Linked DNA regions of Homo sapiens: all the other regions are linked to region 2. The links are contacts of gene promoters, found by promoter capture Hi-C in human tissues and cell types (Jung and others, 2019). All regions are on one chromosome and are shown on one strand. The core of a region is centred on a gene start or on the middle of the fragment in contact, and the rest is flanking DNA. Distances in the headings are between cores, read along the strand shown.

Region 1 (6,925 bases), core at 1,765-4,264, 360 kb after region 2:
AATCCACATTCACGTTCCTCTTTCCTTCGGGGTTAAGTATAAATCTCAGTCAGGGATTCTCCCTATCCCTCATGCAAAGAAAGGAAGGAAGTAGGGCAGGTTCTGTTATTCCCTTCCGGCAACTTCCCAGGAATTCGGGCGTGGTGCTGGGAAGGTGGCAAAAGAAACCTTGCCCTCCACAGAGTCACAGATCAGATGGCGTAATTGAGGGGCCGTCTCAGACACCAGGCTCAGCTTCCTTTTCTGCCTTCATCCCATGGGGCCCAATGGCCAGGCCTGCTGACCTCAGCCCCATAGGACCTCTGGGCCATCTAGCCCTGCTTTCCAGTCTCCTCCTAGAAACAAGTTATAACGCAAATGTGGATAGGAAATGTATGGCCTCATCTTTATATACTATGAGGGTCTGTCAGGATTTGTTTCAGCTTCACATAATGGGGCGGGGAAAATAGCAGCTTAAGGTGAAAGTTTATTTCACTCCCACATAAAAGAAGTCCAGAGGTAGGAAGGTCAGAGCTGGTGTGGTGGCTGGACAATCATCAGGGACCACATTTTTGCTCTGCTGTTCTCAACTCCTGGCTTCCTTCCTCTAGGCCACCTCATGATCCAAGGTGGCTGCTGGAGCCCCAGCATCACAGCCATATTCCAGGCAGCAGGTGGAAAAACAGGAGAGAAAAGGGCATGCCCCTCTCCTTTAAAGGAGGCTTCCTGGATGTTCTACATAACATTCTTACTTAGCTTCTCAGGCCAGAACATACCTAGCTGCAAGAGAGGCTGAGACATGTTCCCGGTTAGCTGGATACAGAGGAGCTGGGAGAGAGTCAGGTTCTATAACTGAAGAGGAAGGGGCAGTCAGTATTGGGTTTACCACCAGCAGGCTCTGCTCCAGGCTCTGTTACGGTCTTATCACAGCAACTCTCTGCACTCAGCACCCACTGGCCCTGCCCTCCCCTGCCTGGGCGCACCCTGAGGCTCTGCCCCAAGTTAGGGCTGCATGGCCAGGTCTCCCCTTGAGCCCCCACCTCTCTGATCATCAGCCTTGTCTGAATACGTTGACCAGCCTTCAGCCCCTCAGGGAGGCAAAGGTGATCAACCTCCTGTCTGCTCCAGTTTCACACCCAGATGCACACAGGGCTGCCCTTGGAGGCTGCTTCCTGTTTGGGCAGAGGTTGAGAGGGCATAGAGAGAGCGCACAGATGGGAGGCTGACATCGGAAGTGGGGTTGGGGATCAGGTGGATGTGTCCCCCAGCCCCTTCCTGGCAGCCTGCCTCCTTAACCTAGGGCACCAAACAAGCCTCAGAGGCCCCTTTTCTCTGTCTTCCAGGTCCTGAGACAGTACAGCATCAACCTCTCTGAGGAAGAGTTCTTCCATATTCTGGAGTATTACGATAAGACGCTGTCTTCAAAAATCTCCTACAACGACTTCCTCCGGGCATTCCTCCAGTAGACACCCCTGCTGTGTGCCCAGCGGGACGACAGCCACAGGGCCTGTTTCAAGGCTAATAAAATCCTATAATTTGGGGGTTTCATGAATTTTCAAAAAAAACAAAACTCAAGCCCAAGCCCAGCCCGCCTGTCTCTGGGTCGGGGGTAGGCACAGCTGCCCTGGGTTCTGGCATAGGATGCTTGCTCTCCAGGTGCCAGGTGCTACCACTATGTCTTGGGCACCCTCACTTGTTAGTCTGAACAAATAATCTTTGCAAGAATGATTCTTGACACTATAAAATAATTACTAATGCTAACTTTTTTTTTTACACGGAGTTTGGCTCTTTTGCCCAGGCTGGAGTGAAGTGGCGCTATCGGCTCACTGCAACCTCCGCCCCCTGGGTTCAAGCAATTCTCCTGCCTCAGCCTCCCGAGTAGCCGGGATTACAGGCACCCACCACACCCGGCTAATTTTTGTATTTTTAATAGAGACAGGGTTTCGCCATGTTGGCCAGGCTGGTCTCGAACTCCTGACCTCAGGTGACCCACCCACCTCAGCCTTCCAAAGTGCTGGGATTGCAGGCATGAGCCTCTGCGCTAACATTCTTAAAAGCTTGGACTTTCCGGAGGTTTTGTTCATGGCCCCTGCCAGGTGTCTCCTCCAGTCCAGAGCAGTTGGGGCCCTGCACCCCATTACCCAAGGACTGCTGCCTCCTTTGACCCCCCAGCTTCCTGGGTCCTGGATCAGAGGACATCTGAGCCCCCTGCTGCAGTCAGGGTGGCCATGTCTCTGCTCCTAGAGGCACAGGCACTGACCGCCCCATCGCTGTCTTGCTCAGGGATGCCAGCCAGCCTGACTCCATGAAGAGCAACTCACGCCTGAGTGAGACCCCCTGGAGCTTTGGGCCTCCCTCCGCCTTCCTGAGCCCAAGCCTAGTGGCCACTGGCCGTAACCCCCACCAGGGACAGTTCTGAGAGGGCCCTTCCTTGGAACTGACAGGTTTGACAAGAGAAGTTTGAAAATCGTCACTCCGCTTTCATGGACTGTGACTCAGCTGAGAGACTCAGGCAGCGTTTGCCACCTTCTGGAAGGTTCTCCAAGGAACTGGGGAGCAGCAGGCAGGATATGGGGTGTGGGGGGAGCACCTCCCCTCCACCTGGGCCCCAGGCCTTGCCCACCAAAACGCCCTTCCCTGCCCCTGCACAGGGTCCAAATGAGGCCACACCCTGAGGTGAGCAGATCTCTCCCTGAGTGGCAGAGCCGCGCATTGGATGGGTGTGATTGGGAGGACAGGCTCCCGCCCAGCCCGCGCAGGCCTTCTATTTCCTGGAAAATGTTTCCTGGGGTCACCTTTGTTTCCATCTGTCCTTAGTTTCCTCCTCATTTCAGGCTGGACCGCTGCAGGGGGAACGGGGTGCTCAGGCAGCCCCAAGTTCAGGGAAGGGGAAGGGGACCCTGAGTAGGCACATCAACAGGGCCATGCAGTGATTACGGGACAGAGACGCCCTGGACCCCAGCTGCTCCTCCATGTGACTTTGTACCAGGTCCCATCCCTTCAGCGTCCTCATCTGTAGAAATGGTGGGACCACACTTGTGTCACCTTTGTTGTGGGACCTGGGCCTGTGGGCAGCAGATGTTCCCATGAGAGAGGCTTCAGCCCAGAATAAGGAAGGCCTGTGAGGGCCAGGGGCACCAGCCTGAGACTCCGGCCAGAGGCAGGGCAGTGTCAGCTCCCAGTGAACACAGGCATGCCAGACTCAGGCTGAGGACAGGCCAGTGCCAGCAGTCAGTGAGCACAGGTGTGCGGGACTCAGGCCGGGACAGGGCAGTATCAGCAGCCAGTGAGCACAGGTGTGCGGGACTCAGGCTGGGACAGGGCAGTATCAGCACCCAGTGAGCACAGGTGTGCAGGACTCAGGATGGTACAGGACAGTATCAGCGCCCAGTGAGCACAGGTGTGTGGGGCTCAGGCTGGGACAGGGCAGTATCAGCGCCCAGTGAGCACAGGTGTGCGGGGCTCAGGCTGGGACAGGGCAGTGCCAGCACCCAGTAAGCACAGGTGTGTGGGACTCAAACCCAGCGCTTCACACACATCATCATTTAGACTCCTGTGAGCATCCCCATTTGACAGATGAGGAAACTGAGGTACCGGAAGTTTTCCAGAGTCTCACAGCTTGCAGGATTTGGCCCAGACAGTGAGTAACAGCCCAAGCCAGTGTCAGAGGCCCTGAAGGTGGGCGGGCAGGCTCCCCTGCAGGCAGCACCAGGACTCACTCAGCCCTGTGCCCACATCCCTGCCTCCAAGCCCTGGCTCCTGCTGGCTCCTCCTTCTGGGACTACTTCTGTTCTCATCTGCACAGCCCGCGTACTCTTCCTCTGAGGCCCAGCTCCAATCCTCCTGTAACCCCTGGGCAGAGGCTGAGCTCCCCGTTCGATGCTGTCACCGCTTGGCAGAGAGAGTCACTCCCTTCTGCACCCACTGCTGGGCCCAGACTCCACCCATAGGGTGAGAACACTGACCTGCGCCCCCAGCCTGGCACACAGCAGGTGCTTTAATGCTGGCAGGGCACAGCCTCTGGGTCCCTTTCCCAGAAGGAAAGCTGACCAGGTTCTGCAGGGAGTGCTGGCAAGTTGGGGAGCAACTCTGGTGTTGGGGGCTTCTCTGTGGATGGAGTCTGTGAGTGCTGGACTCCCCATAGCACTAGGAGGTGGCTGTGGGGTCAGACCCACATTCTCTTGGCCACATCTCCCAGCTTCTGGCAAAACAAGTTCTGGATCTTCCCATGCATGTCCCACCAGCACTGCTGGCACCACACTCTGACATAACAGTTTTAAAATGCAGTCTCCCCTGTAAAAACAAATCAGGTGACACTGAGCTTTCAATGAGCTCTGGAAAGAAGGCTTGGCATCTGCCGGCTGTTATTCCAACCCCAGAAATTGAAAGTGTGTCCCCAAATTTGCAAAGTAACCTATTAAAATCCCCACCATGATGGAGGGTTGCATGCTTAGTGGTGAGGGGCAGATGGATGCCCTGCCCATGTGCCCTGCCTCAGCATTGGAGGCCCGACCTGGGTGCCCAGATCCCATCCTGTGTGCTGGACTTCAGCTTCCCCATGCTTGTTCTTACATATCTTTGCACTTGGCACCAGCAGTTTCTTCCACCTACTCCTCAGGAAATGCCGGGTATTCCTTCGAAACTCTCAAAGCCACCTCTTCCACGAAGCTTTCCTGACTTCCTGAGGCTGAGTCAGTACAATTAGTCTGAACCTGTTCAGCAGCCTTGAGGGTCCATCATTTTTAAGGGTTGAAGAAGGAGGAGGAGAAAGAGGAAGGAAGAAAAGAACAAGAAATGCAACCGACTGCATGTATGTGGACCTCAAAGCCTAAAATATTTACTATCTGATCCTCCACAGAGCAAGTTTGCTGGGCCCTGCTATACAAATGTCTGGCTTTCAACAAAAAATTTTGAGGTATACCAAGGGCAATTATAAAAACAGTTTGAGAAGACAAAGCAATCACAAGAATCAGACTCAGACATGACAGATTTTGGAACCATTAGAAAAATGTTTAAATAACTGGTTTATGTGTTAGAGCGCTAATGGAAAAGAAAGACAACACACGACCAGCCAATTTCAGCAGAGAGATGAAAACTGCAAGAATCAGAAAGGCTAGAAATAAAAAAAACACAGTAATAAAGATGAAGATTGCCTTTGACAGGCTCGCTCATCAGTAGATTCTACATAACCAAGGAAAGAATGAGTGAGCTTGAAGATAGGTCAATAGCATGTATCTAAACCTAAATGCAGAGAGAAAAAGAGTGGGGAAAAATCGCAGAATATATAAGAGCTGTGGGACAGTATAAGATGGTCTAATATGGGGCCGGGCACAGTGGCTCATGCCTGTAATCCCAGCACTTTGGGAGGCCGAGGTGGGCAGATCATGAGGTCAGGAGTTCAAGACCAACATGGTGAAACCTCGTCTCTACTAAAAATACAAAAATCAGTGGGGTATGGTGGTGTGTGCCTGTAATCCCAGCTACTCAGGTGACTGAGGCAGGAGAATTGCTTGAACCCGGGAGGCAGAGGTTACAGTGAGCCGAGATCGCACCACTGCACTCCAGCCTGGGTGACAGAGCGGTGAGACTCTGTGTCAAAAAAAAAAAAAAAAAAAGTCTAACATGCACATAATTCAGGAGGAAAAGAAAGAGAACATGGTGCAGAAGAAATATTTGAATAAATAATGGCTGAGGATTTTCCAAAATTAGTTACAAACACTAAACAACAGAGAACAGAAGCATATAGAACCTGGCAGGATACACACACACACACACACACACACACACACACACACACACACACACACACGCACCTCTAGGAATATCATATTCGAATTGCTGCAAAAAAAAAGAAGGCAGCTAGAGAAAAAAGATGTACATGACCTACAGAGGAACAAGGATAAGAATTATAGCATACTTCTCAGAAACCATGCTAACCAGCAGACAATGGCATAACATTTTCAGAGTGCTGAAAGAAAATCATCAAGCTCAAATTTTGTAACCAGCAAAATACCTTTCAAAAATAAAGAGATACATTGGATTTTCTAGGCACACAAAAACTGAAGGAACTCACTGATGGCATACTTACCATAAAATAAATTTTAGGCTGGGTGCGGTGGCTCACACCTGTAATCCCAGCACTTTGGGAGGCCAAGGCGGGTGGATCACTTGAGGTCAGGAGTTTGAGATGAGCCTGGCCAACATGGTGAAATCCCGTCCCTACTAAAAATACAAAAATTAGCCAGGCATGATGGTGGGCACCTGTACTCCCAGCTACTTGGGAGACTGAGGCAGGAGAATTGCTTGAACCCAGGAGGTGGAGGTTGCAGTGAACCGAGATCACACCACTGCACTCCAGTCTGGGTGACAGAGCATGACTCTGTCTCAAAAAATAAATAAATAAATAAATAAATAAATAAAGGAAGTTCTACAGGCAGAAGGAATATGATTGAGTCAGAAATTTGGATCTATCAAAGAAATGAAGAGTATCAGAAGTGATATAATCAAAGGTAAAATAAAATATGTTTATACCTGAAATTATTTTAAAAGTTAGCCATCTAAAGCAAAATCTGTCACAGTGTATTATGTGTTTACACCACATTTAAAAGTACAACAACAAGCACGAGGGATGGGCAGAAGGAATTCAGAGTGTACTGTTAAAAGTTTCTTATACTGCATGTGAAGCAATATGATATAATTGAAGACAGATTGTTTTATAATGTATTTATAAACCATAGAGCAATCACTAAAAATATACTTTTAAAAATAGACTTGCAAAAGGTAAAATTAACAAGTGAACAGAGGAGATAAAAGGGAATCATGAAGGGTTACATCAGCAGAAATGGCAGAGGAAGGCCCTCCAAAAGACCTTTCCTCCAAAACAGCAGCAAGAAAACTGGCAACAATGGTCAGGATCAACTTTTTTGAGAACTCTAGAAATTATCCA
Region 2 (6,815 bases), core at 1,559-4,058:
CCATGTAATCAGAGCGACCTACGAAGCATTTCCAGCATCCAAGAAGCCCCCAAGCCCCTCCCAGTCACCTCTTCCTGTAGCAGGGAGTTTGGGAGACTAAGAATGTAAGTGCAGGGCCCTAGGACGGACCCACCTGTTGCCCCCTATTGCCTTGAAGAACCTGCAAGGGGCCTCCAGTGCTCTGTGGAAGCAAACCTCACTTCCTTTTGGAGACACTACCGTGCAAGACTGGCCTCAGGGTGGCCCAGTACGTTTGGTTATGCTTGCTTTGGATTTAGGGAGGTATAATAGAATTAGCATTATTTCCAAGAATGGGAAGCCCAGAGGCCTGGACAATATGGCAAAGGACCGGGTGGACCAGGTGCATCTTCCTTGACACCAGCTCGCCCACAACTGTCCTGTGGATGGCCAGGTCAGGCAGACACCGAGAGGGTAGGAGACTTGCTGAGGGTCACACAGCCAGCAAGCCTGAACTCCCGACATCTTCCCTTGCAGGCTCCTGGCCTTCCTGCAACCTCCCAAGCCACCCCAGAAGTGAGCCTGCCTTGGTTCAGCTGCTGGTTCCAGGGCAGCTCCCTGAGAAGATGGTGCTGCTGGGGAAGGCCGTGCTTCTGGACACTTTCTGCTAGACTTGCCACCAGCCCCATCATTCTGGTGATGCCACCAGCCAGACTGTTTTCCCACTTGATGTTGACCAGTCACCCACCCTGAGCTCTGTGCTGCCTGCTGTCTCTGGGGGGCCTCAGACAGCCCACACCAAAATGCAAGACCCAATTCCTGAAGCATCAAGCACGCAGAAACTCAGCCTGGCTCCAGGCCTTACGCTTCCTCCCACAGCCCCGCACCACCTGCCCTCACCGCCATGACTGCTCTCTCCCGCTGGCTGGCTTCTCACTCCTCCCTACTCCTCCCTGCCTGGTGCCTTTGCTCAAACTCTTCCCTCTGTGCCCATCTCCCTTTCTCCCCGTGGTGAACCCTTGATCGACCTCCAAGGTCCTGCTCAAACCTTGCTTTTTCTCCGAAACCTCCGGAACATGTCCCTGCTGAACTCCCAGCCCCTGAACTCCTCCCTTCCTGAACTCACACTGGTGGTCCACTGTTCCAGGGAGGCTCAGTCTGCCTCCGGCACAGTCACAACTGTGGGTGAAATGTTCCTGGCTGTGCCTGCTGTGACCTGGTTCCCTCCTGGAGCAGAGTCAGCACATGGCTTCTAATTACCCCCTGCAGCTGGGGCTGGGTCCTTCCCGCAATGGAGATAGCCTGGGGTACCTGCCACCAGGTGGGTGAGTCTGTGCAGGCCCATGGTCTTTGAGGCAAGGATGCCGCCCCTGGTGTGGGATCAGCAAAGCCCGGTACCGCCCACCTCTGTGGGAGGGGAGGCTGGGCTGGCCTGTCCCAGGGTGCCTTCTGCACCCAGTGCCCATGGGCAAGCTGCCCTTCACTCCCAGGTCAAGGAAGAGGTAGGTGTGAGGCTAAGAGAAGCAGATCCTCCCACCTCTTCCTCCGAAAATGACCCACCCAGGCCATGGGCTGAGCATTCAGTCCACAAACACTGTGCCACACTTCTTCCAGGCACAGATGGAGGACCTGGCCCTCAAGGAGCTCACATGAGAAGGCACTGATATGTGCCATGTGATTAAAGCAGTAACACAGGGATGGGCGCAGTGGCTCCTGCCTGTAATCCCAGCACTTTGGGAGGCTGAGGTGGGCAGATCATCTGAGGCCAGGAGTTCGAGACCAGCCTGAGCAGCATGGTGAAACCCTGTCTCTACCGAAAATAACAAAAATTAGCTGGGCGTGGTGGTGCGTGCCTGTAGTCCCAGCTACTTGGGAGGCTGAGGCAGGATAATTGCTTGAACCTGGGAGGTGGTGGTTGCAGTAAGCCGAGATTGTGCCACTGCACCCCAGCCTGGGTGACAGAGTGAGACTCTGCCTCAAAATTAAATAAATAAATAAATAACATAGCGGTTGCCATTGATTGTGCGCCACTTGATTAAAACAATCACCGTAGTAACCATTGTTTGTGTGCTTATCCAGTGCCGGGCGCTATTCCAAACACGTTACTTGCATTAACTCTAATCCTTACCGGTCCTATGGAGTAAGTAATGTTATTATCCCCACTTGATGGATGAGAAAACTGAGGCACAGATCAGTTAAATTATCCAGGGTCACCAGCCAAGACATTCTGGAGCCAGAATTGGAGCCCAGACAGCCCTAATCACTACAAACCCAAGTTCTTGGAGCTTTGCAGTTTATAAAGCACTTTCCAATGGATTGATTAGGGGAGGAGGGAGGAGGTGGGATGTTTGAGCAGGCTGTAGTGGTAGGTGAGGCTTGGAGAGCGGGTGAGCCAGGGGAAGGTGCAGTGGTGCTGGCTGGAGCGGAGGCTGGCCCCGAGACCTCTCTTTCCCTCAAGTCCCTCCCTGGAACCAGCACAGCTGCGGACTTAAGCCTGGTTTGACCCCAAAGACCAGGTGTCCTGGGTCCGACTCTGCCACTTCCTGGCTGTCACCATCCTGGGCTGCGCCTCAGTTGCCTCATTTGCGTAATGAGGACTGGAATAACATCTGCCCAGACTACCAGAGATCAGGCAAGATTTGGTCCCACTCCCCTGCCGTGTCACCCAGAAATCTATGACCCGATGCGGATCCGGGGCGGGCGCGTGGGGGCGGCGCCAGCGTATACACAGCGCGCGGGCACTTCTGGGGCACACCTGGCGCACAACTGGAGTGGGGGCTGATCGCGACCCGGGGACTTCATTGGCTGGGGCGCAGGTGACGCAGCCCGGGGGCGGCGCAGGGAGCACCAGCACCAGCCCCAGCCCGGCTCCCTCCAGAGCCCACATTTGGGCCCAGCCCCGTCCAAGGCTGCATCCCGGCCCTATCCCGGGTCACGGAGTGACCCTTCCTCGTCCCGATCACCCCGCCCGGTCCACCCGCCATGGGCTTCTTAGAGGAGGAGGGCAGATGGAACCTGTCCTTCTCCGGCGCCGGCTACCTGGGCGCCCACCACGTGGGCGCCACCGAATGCCTGCGCCAGCGAGCCCCGCGCCTCCTCCAGGGCGCCCGCCGCATCTACGGTTCCTCGTCTGGGGCGCTCAACGCAGTCAGCATCGTCTGCGGCAAGTCGGTCGGTGAGTCCCGGACCGCGGGGGCGAAAAGGGGCGGGGACAGCTTAATGAAAGCGGATCGAGCCCAGAGACGCTGGTGCCTGGCGCTGTGCTCTGCGCCCTCTACCCCCGGCACAGCCTCATTTAATCCCATGAGAACACCGAGTGCTGGGGACTAGGTGACCCCCATTTGCAGAGGAGGGATCGTGGCTCAGAGCCAGAAACTCTGTTTCCCAGGTCGGCGGGGCAAAAAGTGAAAAGGTGAACGGATCATTTGAATCCGGGGCCGAGCCCAGAAATTCTGAGCTGGAGTGGGGAGGACCCCGCTCCCACTGCACCTAGGAGGGCAGTGGGGGTGTGGAGGGACTGGCAGGATCCCTGGGCGCTGAGGTCTCCCTTTCCCTGCCCCCACTGCAGACTTCTGCTGCTCCCACCTCCTGGGCATGGTTGGGCAGTTGGAGCGGCTGAGCCTAAGCATCCTGCACCCGGCCTACGCGCCCATCGAGCACGTCAAGCAGCAGCTGCAGGATGCTCTGCCCCCCGACGCCCACGTCCTGGCCTCCCAGCGGCTGGGCATTTCGCTGACCCGCTGGCCTGACGGACGCAACTTCTTGGTCACTGACTTCGCCACCTGCGATGAGCTCATCCAGGTGTGGGGCGGGGGGTGCCCAGGGCTTGGCTGGTGGGCGGGCTCCATCTAGTCCAGAGTGACATCCAGGTACTTCCCCGTCAGACGTTTCTGCAGGGGCGGAAGGAGGGAGGGCGGGTGGACCTGTTTGTAGGTGAGGAAACTGAGGCCCAGAGAGGGTCGGCAGGGTGGGTCTGGAGACTTTCCAGGTTGCTGCACACAGAAGGGTCTGGCTGGGGCCCGGCAGAGTCAGGCTGCTGAGTCAGGGCCCCCACAGGGACTGCTCTTTCCAGAGGGCAGCTGGCTAGCCCCAGCCTCCACCCCACTCCATCCTCCCGCCGCTTTTTGGCGGTGGGTTGACATTTATTGAACACCTATTATGTGCCAGTCACTATTCTAGGCACTGTGACTGTAACAGGGAGCAAAACAGACAGAAACCCTTGCCTTCCTGGGGCTTCTATGCTCAGTGGTTCTGGGGGGCAGGCGGTATCGATAATGAACTCATCTCCAAGTAAGGAGGTAAGGAACCATCCAGTATTGAAATGAAATAGGATGTCTAAAAAAGATGCTTCACATACACCCTGACACTATTATTTGCCAATAGTGTGTACGCGCACGCTCAAGTGCAGGCACACAGTGTGACAACCAAAAATGTCTCTGACATTGTTAGGTGTCCTGTAGGGGAGAAAATCACTCCTAGTTGAGAACCACCAACCCAGAGCTTGCAAACTTTTGAATATAGGACTTTGTCTCATGGAACCCTTGGAAACGTCCCAACTCTCTCTGGGAGGTGCAGAACCCATCCTGGCCCTGACCAGATGGAGATGCAGGTGACAGTTTTGTTCCCACAGACTGATAACAGTCACGGCAGCTAATGTGTACTGAGCACCTACTATGTGCCAGGCCCCATCCCAACTGCTACACAGGCAAGGAGTCTGGGCCACTCTTTGGGGTCCCCGGCTGGCTTCCTCAGGAGCCTGCACCTGGCCTCCTTCCCTGCACACCCACAGAAAGAGGAGGTGGGTGTCAAGACAGAGGTGCTCCAATCCCTGCTTCCCTTGGAGAGCTTGGCTGGGAGGTGATGCCTCAGCTCCCTCATCTGGACGTGGGACTGATGACACCTCCTTTGCAGGCTGTTGGGATTAGAAACCGTGCCTAGGAAGGTTCTGAATGCAAGAAGCATGCACAGTTGTGTTCCTGCTGACTCTTCTCTTCCTAGGCCTTGGTCTGCACCTTATACTTTCCTTTCTACTGCGGGCTGATCCCCCCCGAGTTCAGAGGGGAGGTGAGTGCACTCTGGAACCCCGTTCTGTGCTCTGGGCAGCCTGGGGTGCACACCGTGGAGAGGTGCTTGGGTGGAGGAAACCAGCGCTCCTTGAGCACCTACTGTGTGCCAGGCCCTCCCCCTGCTCCTGGGGGGCGTTCAGCCTCCTGGGCTGGAGTGGCCCTGGTGACTCAGGGACAGCTGGAGGGTCACCGGCTGCAGCCAGTGTGGGAGGCCCTCTGAGAGGGCAGCACCACCCACCTGCTCCCCACAAATTGCAGCGCTACATCGATGGGGCTCTGAGCAACAACTTGCCCTTTGCAGACTGCCCCTCCACCATCACGGTGTCGCCCTTCCATGGGACAGTGGACATCTGCCCCCAGAGCACCTCCCCCAACCTGCATGAGCTGAACGTCTTCAACTTCAGCTTCCAAATCTCCACTGAGAACTTCTTCCTGGGGCTCATATGTCTCATACCCCCCAGCCTCGAGGTAGGTCTGGCCCTGTGATGGTGTTAGAGGCTTGGCCAAGGTCAAGGGCCCCGTGAGTCAGACTCTGTGTGCTCCTAACCCCCACTGCCCCCCGAGCCTGAAGGCAGTTACAACACATGTCCCGAGTCTCACAGCCAAACACCTGAATCCTAAGCTTGGGGTTCAGTTGTGTCCTTACTGTTCTTGCTGCCCTGAGCCAGTGATGAATGAGGACTGGCCCCATGTCAATGGGACACACTCACGCCAACTCTGCTTAGCTGGCCTTTGAGCAGGGCCTTTGCCTGTGCTCCTCTGGGCCAGGGTCTGTAGGCAGGTACCGTTATCATTTCCATTTCTCAGGGGAGGATGCTATGGTTCAGAGAGGTTAAGCAACTTGTTCAAAGTCACACAGACTGGAAGCAGCAAAACCAGGATTCAGACCTAGAGCTGGCTCAGGCCCATGCTCTTGACCACCGTCCTTGACTGTGGCCAAATTGACCATCCATTGTAGAGGCAAGGCACAAATGCAAAGAAAAAAATGAAGGAAGCGTTTTTTTACCCCTTGGTATTTCTGGAAAACAGATAATTTGACAACTATTGAAATATACTCCTCCTGGCCGGGTGTGGTGGCTCATGCCTATAATCCCAGCACTTTGGGAGGCCAAGGCTGGCAGATCACTTAAGGTCAGGAGTTTAAGACCAACCTGGCCAATATGGTGAAACCCTGTGTCTACTAAAAATACAAAAATTAGCTGGGCATGGTGGCGCATGCCTGTAATTCCAGCTACTCAGGAAGCTGAAGCAAGAGAATTGCTTGAACCTGGGAGGTGGAGATTGCAGTGAGCCGAGATAGTGCCATTACACTCTAGCCTGGGTGACAGAGTGAGACTCCATCTCAAAAAAAAAAAAAAAAAAAAAAAAAAGAAGGAAAGAAAGAAACACACACACACACACACACACACACACACACACACACACTCCTCTGCCCCATCCACATCCTGGCTCTTCCTTGTCCCTTCTACCTCTCAGGTTTGTGTAGTGCTTTCTAAGTCACGAGACAAAGTCATGTTCATTTACTCCGGTACTCCCCACACCCCTGGGCGGGCAGGAAACCCCAGCCCCATTTTCTAGATAAGGAAGCTGAGGCACTCAGAGAGTTGGCACTGCCATGCTGAAGTCTCACAGCAAGGATGTGAGGGGGACAGCACCCTTTGCCACCAGTGGGACTTTAATCAGACAGGCAAGTGGGGCTCCTGGTTCCTCAGCCCACCTCAGTCTGGTACTGGAAGTAAACATCGAAGGGGCAAAGGGAACCCCCATCCACTGCCCTACAAGGGGCCAGAC
Region 3 (6,733 bases), core at 128-2,627, 380 kb after region 2:
CCCTCTGGAGCACTTGCCCTTAATGAATCACAAACACGCAGCCCTGTGTTGGGACATGCTTCTGGAGGAACTAACCTCATATCCCCACCACCCACCTTCAGAACAGCCCCTCCCTTCCTCTCCACGAATGTGAAAATGAGTCCTGGGTCTTGGCAGTGGACAGGCTGCAGGCCGCAGCCACATATTCCACTGGTAGCTCGGATACTCACTGAGCCGTGGGCGAGCCGCGGCCCCTCCGAGCCTCAGCTCCCTCTTCTGTGAAGGTAGGTTGGCCCTGCAGGTTGCTGTGGATCTTAAACGACACAGATGCGTTGAGTGCCCGGCACACAGAGGTGGGCATCCCAACCCCTTCATGACTTCCTGCTGTTCAGGGCCCAGCCACACTTCTTCCGCCAGGAAGCTTCCTCCAGTATGCTGAGTTTGGTCTTCACCAGGGCCCCCAAGACTGACCCATCTGCCACTTACTGGGCCCCAATATATAAGACCTGAGGGGTTCAGCTTTTCTTCTGGGGTCAGATGAACCTTCCACAGTGCACCGAGAATTTCCAGATGCCAGGCCTAATCCCCACATCGTGGAGACCTTTTCAGTCGTGCCTTCGATGGGAAGTGGGGCAGAGCCTCTCAGGTCTGTGTGACAAGGCCCCCAGCTGGCCAGGCAGGTTTAGGCCCAGGTGGGAGTTGTGGGTGGCATCCGGGGAGAGTTGGGTGGAGCCCCTGTCCACAGGGCTTGTCACCTCCGCCAGTTCATTCAGGAATCTGGGAAGTGAGTCTCCTAGAAGAAAAAGTCCTACGAATTTGGTCCTCATGGAGGTTCAAGGATCAACTCCATGGAAGCAAATTGCAAGACGGAGCTGCTGGGGCTGGGGCTGGGGCTCTGGGAGTGGGTGCACCATCAGAGAGGAGGCAGGGAGGGGAAGCAGCCTGCTGCATTTGCCACTGGACTCCCACTGGCAATGGAGAGCGGTCTCAGGCCCCATGCTGCTCTGTCTCCTGTGCCTCGGGGCTGCCTGGGGAATGATGGCTGCAAGCCTGGGTGAGCCCAGAGTGCTGCACCCCCAAGAGCTGAGGCTCCAACACCAGGCACCTCTGCTGCAGGATGCCCTCACTGTTGGTGCAGTACCCTGGACAAATTCAGAGCTGTCTACACATCCTGCATAAGCATGCAGCTCAGCTGCTGCTGCATCTCAGCTGGGCCAACAGGACCCTGATGCATTCAGGCGGCACCTACCACGTGACAGCACCACTAGTGGCAGCAGCCAGAGTCGCTTCCCTGCCCCTGCTCAGGAGCCCTGCTGGGGTGCATGCTGGCCAAGAGCAGCAGCTGGGGTCCTTAAACTGATTAGTTCCTTGTGGCCTCTGGATGGGAAGCCAGGGCCTGGGATGGCTGTTGTACACCCCTGTGAGACCCTGGTGGAGGGGACTCTTGGAGGGGCAGGTGACAGGTGGGGCCAGTCTGAGAACAGGAGAGGGCAATGAAGAGGTGGCACATTGTGATCTGCCCCAGGCTGCCCCCTGCCCTGCACACCTCCCTAGGAGGTCTCCCCTGCCCCACATCTTTGCTTATGACCCACATCTGGCTCCAGAGACACTGTTTCTCCTGCAGGCCTGTTTATCCTCTGAACACCTCCCCTGTGTAGCCCAAAGTCTCCCCCAGCTCATGAGTCCCAAACAGCACTCCACGTCCCTCCTCAGCCCTGTTCTTCCTGCTCCTGTGCCCCTTCTCCGTGACAGCACCCAACTTCCACTGCCGTCCTTGGCTGTCCCTCCCCCATGCCCCACATCCATTCCTCACTGCCATCCTACCTCCTAAATCTATTGCCGCCGCCACCACTTCCCTAGCCCAAGCAAGACCCATGGGAGGTACTCAGTGGTGTTTGTAGATTGGATGGATGGATGGGAGGGAGGGAAGGATGAAGGATGGATGGATGGATGGAAAGAGGGAGGGAAGGAGGAGGAAGGGATGGATGGTGGATGAATGGAGGGATGGAGGGATGGATGGATGAGGGAATGGGTGGATGGATGGGGCAAATGGAGGGATGGAGGGATGAAGGGGGGGATGGATGGATGGATGATAGATGGGGGATAGATGGATGGATAGATGGGGGATGGATAGATGAATGGGGGGTGAATAGAGGGATGATGGATGGGGGGATGAACGAAAGGATGGAGAGATGGATGAGAGATGGATGGATAGATGGGGGTGAATGGATGGATGGAAGGATGAATGAAGGATGGATAAATGTCTGGATGGGGGATGGATGGATAGCTGGGGTATGGATGGACGGAGGGAGGGATGGATGGATGGAGGGATGGATAGATGGATGGGGGATGGATGGGTAGATGGGGGATGGATGGATAGATGGGTGGATGGGGGGATGGACAGATGGAGGGATGGATGGATGGACAGTTGGGGGATGGATGGATGATAGATGGGGAATGGATGGACGGATAGATGGAGGATGGATGGATGGGGGATGGATAGATGGAGGGATGGATGGATGGATGGGGGATGGATGGGTGGATGGGGGATGGATGGATGGAGGGAGAGATGGATGGATGGATGATGGACGGAGGGAGGGAGGGATGGACGGATGGCGGATGGATGGTTAGATGGATAGATGGAGGACGAATGGATGGAGGGAGGGATGGGTGGAGGGAGGGATGGATAGATGGATGGGGGATGGATGGATAGGTGGGGGACGGATGGATGGATGGAGGATGGATGGATGGATGGATGGATGGGGGATGGATGGATAGATGGATGGATGGGGGATGGATAGATGGAGGGATGGATAGATGGGGATGGAGGGATGGGGGATGGATGGATGATAGATGGGGGATGGATGATGGATGGATGGATAGATGGGGGATGGATGGATGAGGGGATGGATGGATAGATGGGGGATGGATGGATGGAGGGATGGGGGATGGATGGATGATAGATGGGGAATGGATGGAGGGATAGATGGGGATGGATGGATGGGGGATCAATAGATGGAGGGATGGATGGATAGAGAGAGGGAGGGAGGGAAGGATGGAAGGATGGGGGATGGATGGATGAATGCATGGATGATGGATAGATGGAGGGAGGGATGGATGGATGATGGATGGAGGGAGGGATGGATGGATGGGGGATGGATGGATAGATGGGGGATGGATGGGTGGAGGGAGGGATGGATGGATGGGAGATGGATGGATGGATGGATGGGAGATGGATGGATAGATGGATGGGGGATGGATAGATGGAAGGATGGATGGATGGACAGATGGGGGATGGATGGATGACAGAGGGGGGATGGATGAATGGATAGATGGGGCATGGATGGATGGGGGATGGATGGATGGATGGATGGATGGATAGATGGGGATGGATAGATGGAGGGATGGGGGATGGATAGATGGAAGGATGGGGGATGGATGGATGGATGGATGTTGGAAGGAGGGGTGGATGGTATATAGAGGGATGGACGGACAGATGGATAAAAATGACAGAACTTTTGCAGCTTGGGGGCTTTCAGACTAGGGTCGTTGTACCTGCCAGTGTTTCTCCTGGGCAATGTCTGGACCCTGTGTTTCACAGGGGCTGGGCTGAACATGCCATTTCCAGGAAGAGTCCAGCGCTAAGGCCTCTGGAGGTGTTCTGTTTTGGGAGACCAGGCAGCCAAGTATTTGTACAAAAGAGGACCCAGAACTGCCCACACCACCACCTCTGGGATCCCCCCACCCCAGGGGAGGTTAAAGCAAGCAGAGGGACACCGACTGCTGCCACACAGGAGGTCTTTGGCATCCAAGCTCTGTCCAGGCCTCAGCATTCTGCAAGAGGACACCACGCTGCCACCATGTGTCCCAGACAACAGCCAGAGATGTGGAAGGAAGAGGTGCCGCGTGGACTTCTCTTTTTACAAAGACTTTATTGTCTGACATGCTTGACAAAAAAAAAAAAAAAAATTACAGCCACAATCAAGTTATGCCAAAATGATTGAGAAGCACGCCGTCATCTTCATACCTCGAGGACTTTTAATGAATTTTCTCTTAAAGTAACAGCTGCCTTCATAACTTTTCTTTTCCACATAAAAATACACCATATTCTGAAGATACCTTAGGAAAAAAATTTTTTTAAGTTTATCGTTCTTGGTCCACATAGAAATTGAGTGGAGCTGGCACTGAAAGGGCCTGCTTTTCTCCACCCGCACACATGTCCTGCGCCTGGGGCATCAGAGAGACCTCATAAACATCCCTGGCTACAGGAACCCCTTCAGCCAAACGGGATTCCTGGAGCCCTGCACCCCACGGCGCTCAGCTTCAGCCAACCCGATACAGTGCTGCTGCCAGGCTTCCAGGGACAGCAGCCCCACCCCTCGAGGAGCCCAGCTCAGTGTGGGCAGAAAAGGACTCCCAGGATGCTAGGATGCTGCACCCAGGGTTCAGGACTCCTCAGAGCTCACACCAGTTTTGAACAGGACCCTTAAAAATAAAAATACAATAAAAAGAGCCTTGGACCATGCATTGCTTTGTAGGGACATAACTTCGGGTCATGGCAAAGTGAGGGCAGTGAGGCCAGAGAACAAGGGTCAGATCCTGCCTCGGCTCCTTTTGTGCTGTGAGCCCCCAGGCAAGTTACCACACCCCTCTGGCCTCAATCGTCTCATCTCTAAAATGGGACTAAAGTACCTACCTTGAAGGACCATCTGAGGATGAAATGAGTCTATATCTGCAAAAGGGCTCACGGTAGGCTGGTTCCCAGGGCTGGGACCTGGGTGAGGGAGTGACACCCTTCTCTCAGATGTACAACGGAAAGGGGTGCAAAAAAAGTCACCAATCAGGACAAATAATACTACTTTAATGCAACGTTAAAAATCAAAATAAATGCAGAAAAAGTCCATGATGAACAAAATATTAAATAACGACAGAATCTGACCCTGAACTTGCCCATTTCTGCCTGACTGCCTGCCCCTCATCTAGGCCCTACCGGTTCCCACCACCGCCCTGGCCCCACCCCCTCCAGTCCTAATTCAAAGAAGAAAAAGAAGCTGTCCAAGGTGGGGCTGCTGGAGCCTGGGGCCCGCTCGGTCCCTGTGCCACCCTCCAATTCACAGGGCCGGCTGGTCCTGGGCTTCCTCGGCTGCAGGCATGCCAGACAGAATCCTAACGGTGCAAGGGAAGCCGCACCAAGGAACAGAACCTCACTACGGGGCAGAAAAGAGAAACACAGGACCCACTTGGTTCAATTAAGAGGGGTGCGTGCGTGCATGTGTGTCGGTGCGTGCCTGGACATGGGTTCACACCCATGGCAGGCCTGCTGCAGCCTAAGCCTGCAGACCCTCCATCCAGGCTACCGCATTCTACAGAGCAGTGTGTTCCCCGTGGGACCAAGGGTCATCCCCCCATGACTGGGAACGCTCTCACTGGTCCTGGGCACGAATGCCAGTGGCTCATTCTGTAGAACCAGCCCCCATCATCCAGGCTCCGAGTGAATGCCTAGGACACTCAGGTCATTGTTCAAGTAAACAAAAATGCCTATGGGAAGAAAAAGGGGGGAACAATGCCAGGCAAACAGCTGTGGGCCTGGCCAGGTGCGGTCTGAATTCCTGAGATGTCCCTAAATGCTCCCTCGGAGGGCCTCCGCCTTGGGCCTGTCTCCTCCCTCACTTGGGAGGAGAGAAAGGGACTGTCTGTGTGCAGCTCACGAATCCTCCCACCCACCCCAACCCAGGGGCATGCCGCCACACAGACCCGTGGTTAGAGGGAGATTTTGTGTAACTTCCAAAACCCATTCAAGAGCAGCAGCTTCCCAAACCAGGAGGGCGTCCAAGGGAGAAGAATGAAGATTTAGTCATTTCCCAAACATGACAGGGCCATGAGCTTAGTAGGTCCTTTAACGAGGTACACGCAGGATGTACACGCAGAAAAAGTAAATGAGCACAGAACCCCTGATGGGGATGCGCAGGGTCCCAACTCCAGGTGACAGAAGGCTAAAGAGTCGTTCCAAGGCCCTGACCTGCCTGCTAGGCCAGTCCCCGCAGCCAGATGGGTCGTCCAGGCAACTCAGCATGGAAGGAACAGTGGCCGGGCCAGGCCTGTGGAGCTGACACGGGCGGGCAGGGCAGGGGCAGTGGGGAGCAGTCAGGAGTTCCGGGGTGTGGGGAGGTCGATGACTATGGGCGGGTTCACGGGCTGGTAGTTCACAGTGCATACGGACGCATTCACATAGGTGGTCGTCCCATCTGCCATGACACCATACCCTGGAAAGTAAGCACATGCCCATCAGGCCAGCAGCCAGAGTAGTGAGGGTGGCCAGGGGGGTGTGGCAGTCATAGGGCACTCAGCCCCTGTGGGCTGAATGTGTTTGGGGCAAGCTGGTAAACTCTCGAGGTCAGTCCCTTCATCTGTAAAATGGAGATGATAATGATACATGCCACTTCCAAGCCTGCTGTGAGGATTATATGAGATAATTATCTATGTACTGTGCTCGGCCCAGTGCCTGGCACATAAGAAGCACGCAGTGAGTCATCATCATCGACATCATCTTCACCACCATCCTCGTCACCATCACCACCACCACTGTACCACCATCATCACTATCAACATCATCATCACCACCACCCTTATCGTGATCATCACTATTTTTCACCACTACTACCACCATAATCATCACTAATGTCATCATCATCACTATCATGATCAACATCATCACCAACACCCTTATCATCATCTTCACTGTTACCTCCACCAC
Region 4 (7,295 bases), core at 1,796-4,295, 450 kb after region 2:
TTCTCCACTCTCTCAGGAAGTTGCACAATGCTGGTGTCAGGCCCTGTTACTCAAAGTGTGATTCCCAGGATGGGCGCAGTGGCTTACGCCTGTAATCCCAGCACTTTGGGAGGCCAAGGCAGGTGGATCACTTGAGGTCAAGAGTTCAAGACCAGCCTCACCAACATGGTGAAACCCTGCCTCTAAATACAAAAATTAAAAATACAAAAATTAGCCAGGCGTGGTGGTGGGTGCCTGTAATCCCAGCTACTTGGGAGGCTGAGGCAGGAGAATTGCTTGAACCCGGGAGGCAGAGGTTGTAGTGAGCCGAGATCGCACCACTGCACTCCAGCCTGGGCAACAGGGCGAGACTTTGTCTAAAAAAAAAAAAAATATATATATATATATATATATATAATATTTACATATATAAAATATTTTTATATTTATATAAAAATATAAATATATATATATATAAGTGTGCTCCCCAAGAGTCCTCGGGAGAACAGAGAAGGGGCATACCCTGGGAGCTCATTAGAAATGCAGAATGTCATGCCCTCCCGAGACCTATGTAATCTGCACTTGAGCACTGAAGTGTGAGATAGGCCAGTCGTGAGGATAAAGGAGAGACCAGGAGGGGAGACGCCCCTCTACATGAACAATAACAGCACCTGCTGGTTTCCACTCTCTCTAAGTGGCGATCGTATTCTCCAAATGGAACTAGTCCCCGGGCTTCTGACAACGTTTATGCTGAGTGCAGGTGCAGGAGGCAGGCAGGCAGGGGCAGGTTGCATAGACAGGGAGATGGTGGAAACTTCCAGACATTTCAGAAGTTTATGTGCACGCGGGGACACAGTATTTTAATTCTGTGCTGGCCAGGATTTTCTGGCTTGTTCATTATTCCTGTTCTGGAATAAAATCCTGTATGAAAATGACATTTTAAAAAATCTACAGGCTTGTTTCATATCCAAACACCTCTCTCCATGTTTGTGAAAAGAGAGAAAAAGCATGTCAGTAAGAAAATCTTGCTTCCACCAACTTCTGAACAACCAACCAGCAATTTCTCCCCAAAGGGTCCACAGCCTTGAATGAGCTGGAGAGAAGCGGCACAGGAAGAGGAAGACTCACACGAGGGAACCTGGCACAGCCCCAGACTGCACGCTTGGCATACATCCTCTCTCATCCGCAGAACCACCAGCAGGGGGGAGGAAGGCACCGCCACCCTCCATTACACAGGAAAGTCACCTGCCCTCCGTCTCACAACTGGGAGGCAGGTGAGCTGCAAGTTAAGCCTACATGGTCCAACTTGGTCCCCGGCTACCACTTCCCCCTGTCCTGTCTCCATCGTTCATGGTGTTTTCTTGTTTGTGTGGCTCTCAAGTGGAAGTCTTGCTTGATTTGCTGCCCACGGTATCTCTGGTGTCTGGCACAGGGTGTAGAACAACACAGAGGTGCCACAAATGTTTGTTGAGTGAATGAATGATTGCAAACCAAAGGCAAGTAGCAGCTTCAGCCTTGCGCCCTAGGTTAGCCTCAACCCTTGAGCTGGAAGGCCTGTGCTCATACTTCATGTGTCCAAGCACTGCCCAAATGCCCAGGCCGCCTCACTTGCCACCTCCTGCATGAAGCCCCCCAAGCTTCCCTACTGGGTCCCATCCCCCATCTGGACTCAGTTTCTTCCACTCACTTGCTCAGACTCTCCGTGGGGTTCCAGCCACATCTTCCCATGTGCCGTCAACACCCCCAACTCAGAGTTGCTGCCTCTGCCCAGACATGGGCACGGCTGGCTGCCTCCATTCAGATCTTCATGCAAACATCCCCTCAGCAGAGGGTCCGGCCCTTCCCCATCCCTTCATGTCCCCTCAGCCTGAACACCCCCATCATATGACAGCTGTTTATCCACAGCCTGTCTTCTCCCCTGACTCACAAAGGCAGGAACTAGTTTTGTTCACTGCTGCATCCCCAGTGCCTAGAATCACGCCCAGTGCAGAAAATGTGCTCAGGAAACATCTGTTGAGTAAATAATCAAGTGCAACCTGGAAAACAAATACTAATAACTATGACTAGTTTGAGGCAGAGTTAAAAATGCATTAAAAGTAAACACCAGGCTGGGTGCAGTGACTCATGCCTGTAATCCCAGCACTTTGGGAGGCCAAGGCAGGCAGATCGCTTGAGCCCAGGAGTTCGAGACCAGCCTGGGCAACATGGTGAAACCCCGTCTCTACAAAAAATAGAAAAATCAGCCGGGTGTCGTGGTGCATGCCTGTAGTCCCAGCTACTAGGGGGGCTAAGGCGGGAGAATCACCTGATCCCAGGAGGTTGAGGCTGCAGTGCGCCATGATCACACCACTGCACTCCAGCCTAGGACCCTGTCTCAAAAAAAAAAAAAAAGAAAATGTAAACACCAGGCTAGGCACAGTGGCTCATGCCTGTAATCCCAGCACTTTGGGAGGCCGAGGTAGGCAGATTGCCTGAGCCCAGGAGTTCGAGACCAGCCTGGGCAAAATGGTAAAACCCCATCTCTAAAAAAATACAAAAATTAGCCAGGCATGGTGGTGCATGCCTGTAGTCCCAGCTACTCGGGGTGAGGTGGGGGACTAAGACGGGAGGGTTGCTTAAGCCCAGGAGGTCAAGGCTGCAGTAAGCAATGATTGTGCCACCGCACTCCAGACTGGGCAACAGAGTGAGATCCTGTCTGCAAAAAAAAAAAAAAAAAAAGGAAACATCAGACAGCAAAGATATAGATAAGATGGCAGCAAGAGGGGGCAGGGTACGTGTGTCCTCAGGTTCTTCAGGGAGGAATGGAGATGTTGATTAATTTTAGGCTGTGTTAAGTCTGATACACACGTTAAAAATTTATGAGTAACTACTAAACAAATCAAAAAAGAATACAAAATTTCCAAACCAGTAGAGGCGAAAAAAAGAAACTTCAATCAATCAATCCAAAAGAAGGCGGAGGTGGGGGGGATAGAAAGCACAAAATGAATGACAGAAATGGGCATGTTTTATACACCAGGTAACTAAATAAATATTTGTTGTTATTATCCAAATACAAAAGCCTTTACCAAGGTCCTTCCACACAGAAATAAGGAGGGCACAGGAATAGGCCTTCAAGTTACTCCCAGTGGAATGAGATGGATGTCAAACATGCTACAGAGGACCCATCAGAGGAGCTGGCACATCTCCCAATAATCAGGGCCATTAATCAAATTACCTTCTTCACTTTGGCCCCCAGGAAGCTCAGACCCTAGTTAACCACTTACAGCCCACATAGCACTGGGTACTGGAATTCTAGGCCCTCCGTCTGAGCTACTCTAACTTTTTTTTCAACCCTGGCTTTTAATTTATCATCAATATTCTACCCATTTTACTATTTTTGTCATTTTTATAAACTATCTCCAACTCTTTGACACAAAATGAGATATAAACAAGCAAACAAAAAATCCAAATGAATAACAAACTACACAAAATTAAGCCACACAAGAACTTTCAGACAGTCCAGGACTTTCAGAGAAATGAATCTCTCTACCCTGCTTAGATTTTTTTTTTAAGTTTTTAATTTTAAGGCAGAGATACTTAGGATAATGGTCTTCAAAAAAAATAAAGAAATAAAGGGCCAGGCATGGTGGCCTATGCCTATAATCCCAACACTTTGGTAGGCCAAGGCAGGTGGGCCACCTGAGTTCAGGAGTTCAAGACCAGCATGGCCAACATGGTGAAACCCCGTTTCCACAAAAAATACAAAAATTAGGCATGGTGGCTGGCTCCTGTAATCCCAGCTACTCGGGAGGCTGAGGCAGGAGAATCATTTGAACCCGGGAGGGGGAGGTTGCAGTGAGCTGAGATCGCGCCGTTGCACTCTAGCCTGGGTGACAGGGCAAGACTCCATCTCAAAAAAAAAAAAAAAAAAAAGATAGATAGAAAGAAAAAAACACCACTGCATAACATGTTTGATACACACACACACACACACACACACACACACACACACACACACCCCAGTGGGTCTCATTTCATTTCCAAAGCCATTTTGTTGTAAATAGATAATTATCACTTAAGCATACCTTTCAAGGGGTTTATACATTAACATGAAAATACTGTAATTATGGCTGGCCAAAATCACTTGACTACAACTTAGAATTCTAGATTTTTCATCTTTCTTAGAAGTTAATTTTCTTCCTTTTAGCCCCTACAACACAGCATGGCTTGTGAGGAATTTTTTTGATGAAGAATATAGAAAATTAATTTTTTAAATGAAGATCAAACCTCTGCTGCACAAGCCATCCATTTTTCTTCTGAGCCTTGATCTCACTCTCCAGGTGGTCACTCAGTTTATCAATCACACTGGCCATGTGCGTACGCAACCAAAATCCCTGGACACCAACAGCGCCCCATCAGAGAGTGCCGGAGGTGACAAGAGGCTCCAGAGTTTAAAAGTAAAATTATTTTTAAAATATTCAATCTCAAGTCTTTGCAAGAATAACAATGTGTGTCTGGAAATGTCTGAATCAGGCCGTAGCAACAGAATCCATTTTAAGTCTGCTGTACACTTTCAGAGAGAATTCTTGTTAGCTCTTTAAAAAAAAAAAGTTGGTTGGACTTTTTTTTTATCAAAGTGATCACATCATAAAATTTGTCTTCTCTTTCCTCATTCCTTTAACAAATATTTGTCAAATGCCCACCTCATGCCAGGCTGCCAGGCCCTAAGTATACCAGGTCAGCCATCTCCCTCGCCCCTAACTTCATACCCCACCAGCAAATTCTGTTGATTCCACTTCCAAACCAGAGCCAAGCCTCTACTGCACTCTCCCTGGGCCACCTCCAGGTCCAGCCTGAGCTACCCTGGCCTCTCGCAGACACCTGCACCAGCCTCTCCTGGTACCCTGGCGTCCTCTCCTGCCTGCTACAGTCAGGCTCCACCCAGAAGGGTCCTTCAGAAACCCGAATCAGACCTTGTCCTCCCTGCCTAAGCCCCCCAGTGGCCTCTAGAATAAAATCCATGCCCTCGTCCCAGCTGGTCAGCGGCCCAGGATCACCAGGATCAGGCCCACAGGCCTCCACTGTGCAGCAGGAATTCAGAGCTGGGTCCTTCTCCGTGCATGACCCTCCCAGGGGGGCCTTCCCCAGCCATCTTATGTCAAGGAGCTTTCCACTCCAGTCACCACCAGCCTACCCTGTGCATTGATCAATTCTCTTCACTCTGCTTGCTATTTACCACCTATGACTGCATTCAACCTCAGGCCACCCAGGCAGGGACAATCCTGTGCCATCCATCACTGAATCTCCAGCACCAAAGCAGTGAACACAGTAGCCCCTCACGCTGTGTTGACTGAGATGCACGTAGACCCCTGCCCTGGTCCCCAGCAGTCACAGCCCCGCGGGAGAGGCGAGAGATCTACTAACCCATGCTGGGGGCTCTGACACTGGGAGGTACGTGAACCGGCAGGGCCCTAAGTGCCAGGAGGGGCTGAGTTCACACAGGGTGCACACACGGTCTCATCTGATTGAGGTGGACGCTCCATGAGGGAGAAGGGAGGCCAGCTGGCTGATGAGGGCAGAATCAGAAGTGGCCCCACATCCCTGACCTCCAGTGCTTGGTGCCCTGCACTGGGGAGAGGCTGCCAGTCCTGACAGAGCCAGCATGAGGCCTGATGGACTGCCCCTGCAGAGCTTGGCACCCCATTCCCAGGAAGACTCCAGTCCCACCCGACCGCACCCTCCATGCATAGAGAACAGCTCCACCTCCCGGAGGCAGGAGCAGCCCCGCACAGGGGCGGGTGCCCAGGTACTAGCTTTAGGTCCTGATCTATTACGGGGGATGCCCACCCAGCACACTCTGCAGCAGTCAGAAGGGGCAGCCACGGGGCAGGATCTTGCAGTGCTCAAGTCAGGAAAGGGAGGAAGAGCGAGGTGCACCCAGGCAGGAAGGAGCATGGGAGAGAAGGAGGGAGCTTGTGCATGCTGTTCATTGGGTGGGGAGGTGGGAAGAAGGGAGGGGAAAAATAAAGAAACAAAAGCAGGGACTTGCACAAGCTGCAGGGGACAGACAGCCATGAACTCTGGGATGGGGACCTTCCCATCCGCATCCAAGGTTGGTTTCCGCACCCCCAAGTAGAAGAGAGGAGGCCAGAGAGTAGACTGGAAAGGACAGACAAATTATGAGAGGGGCGTGGAGGGGGGTCAACCACCAGCTTGCACCAGAAAGTACTTGTTTCCCACACATGATCCTAATTACCATGCCTGTGAGCTGCCTCCTGCTCCTGCAAGGGGAGGGCGAGGCCCCACCTGCTCCTTTCTGAAGCCCCCGACCTCCACTTGGAACCTTGAACAGAGAAGGTGCCCATTCCGCCGGCAGGCGCCCTGGGATTAAATCACAAAGAGGCAAAACGATTGTGTGTGGCCCATTTCCAGGCAAACCCCCTGCAGCCTCAGACCTTCCATGCAGTGGCAAATGAGGCAAGAACCAAAGAAACTGCCTTGACGTAAATTCTCCATTTCCCTTTCTCCCCCTTCCTCCCTCATGGATTTTAATTAAGGGTTTACTTGCAAAAGACCTAGTTCTATTTCACTAAATCCTTGGACCCCTTTTATATTGTCTCATATATCGTGTTATGCTCAGGCGCCAGTGCAAACTTAATTATAACTTCTAAATACTCCATTACCAGGCCCTCATCTTCCTCCCCTGCCTGAGTCTGCTAAGGGTAGTGCCACTTAATTAATGGGCCCATCATGTGCTTTACAGACCACGCTTTTACAACAAACACCCCTGGGCACCTCGGCACCAGGCTGGGCTGGGCTCTGAGGACCCGTGCTGACCAGGGTATGGTCTCCGCCCTGGAGTGGCTCACAGAAGCTGCAGGAGGAAGGGAGGCCAGTAGGCTGGCACACAGAGCACCCACAGCAGCTCAGCAGGTGACACAGTGGGCAGAGGGGACAGTGGGCAGGACAGACGATAGCAGTGTCACAATCACAATAGATGATTGCAGACGTCAGCCTCAAAGGGAAAGGAGAGGGGACATAGGAGCCCTGACTGAGAGGGTCCCAAATGCCATAGTGAAGTGCTTCATCTTACTACATAGCCTAAGGGGATGGGTCAGAGGTTTGGGAGTTCAGTTTGGGACAGAACTAGTCTAAAACCCTGGCAGACACCCAGGAGGAGGTGTTTTGTAAGAAGACTAGACAATGCAGTGGCTGGATGAGAGAGATGGAGGCATTCTGCAGGTCTGGGTGGAGCTAGAGCTGGGGGGTCTGAGTGGTTAGTTGTCATTTGGAAAGAAGGTGGGTGAGAGGCCTAAGGATGGACCCTAGGAGAAGCC

Evidence for each region. The method cuts DNA at HindIII sites, captures the fragments that hold promoters and counts their contacts. A contact is called where the count stands out against the background at its distance.
Region 1: a contact is called between a fragment that was not itself captured here and the fragment with the promoter of PNPLA5 in region 2, in 2 of the 25 tissues and cell types used here (dorsolateral prefrontal cortex and lymphoblastoid cells).
Region 3: a contact is called between a fragment that was not itself captured here and the fragment with the promoter of PNPLA5 in region 2, in 1 of the 25 tissues and cell types used here (lymphoblastoid cells).
Region 4: a contact is called between a fragment that was not itself captured here and the fragment with the promoter of PNPLA5 in region 2, in 1 of the 25 tissues and cell types used here (IMR-90 fibroblasts).

What each region holds. Positions count from the first base shown.
Region 1 is chr22:43,523,373-43,530,297 of GRCh38, reverse strand. All of the region lies in intron 2 of EFCAB6-AS1 (EFCAB6 antisense RNA 1), which reads right to left. It overlaps EFCAB6 (EF-hand calcium binding domain 6), which reads left to right. Exons shown (of 32, transcript NM_022785.4): 32 at 1,323-1,520. The coding sequence ends at 1,445. Among named protein-coding and RNA genes, the nearest start is that of EFCAB6-AS1, 11 kb to the right of the region's middle. RefSeq lists an enhancer at 2,106-2,605. The HindIII fragment of the contact is 6,308 bases long and covers 1-6,168 here.
Region 2 is chr22:43,888,006-43,894,820 of GRCh38, reverse strand. PNPLA5 (patatin like domain 5, triacylglycerol lipase) reads left to right here and starts at 2,808. Exons shown (of 9, transcript NM_138814.4): 1 at 2,808-3,133; 2 at 3,527-3,759; 3 at 4,957-5,022; 4 at 5,283-5,492. The coding sequence starts at 2,941. The HindIII fragment of the contact is 8,381 bases long and covers 1-6,803 here.
Region 3 is chr22:43,505,007-43,511,739 of GRCh38, reverse strand. It overlaps MPPED1 (metallophosphoesterase domain containing 1), which reads right to left. Exons shown (of 7, transcript NM_001044370.2): 7 at 3,892-6,242. The coding sequence ends at 6,124. Among named protein-coding and RNA genes, the nearest start is that of EFCAB6-AS1, 7.9 kb to the left of the region's middle. The HindIII fragment of the contact is 7,472 bases long and covers 1-5,113 here.
Region 4 is chr22:43,440,961-43,448,255 of GRCh38, reverse strand. All of the region lies in intron 3 of MPPED1 (metallophosphoesterase domain containing 1), which reads right to left. Among named protein-coding and RNA genes, the nearest start is that of MPPED1, 33 kb to the right of the region's middle. The HindIII fragment of the contact is 5,257 bases long and covers 417-5,673 here.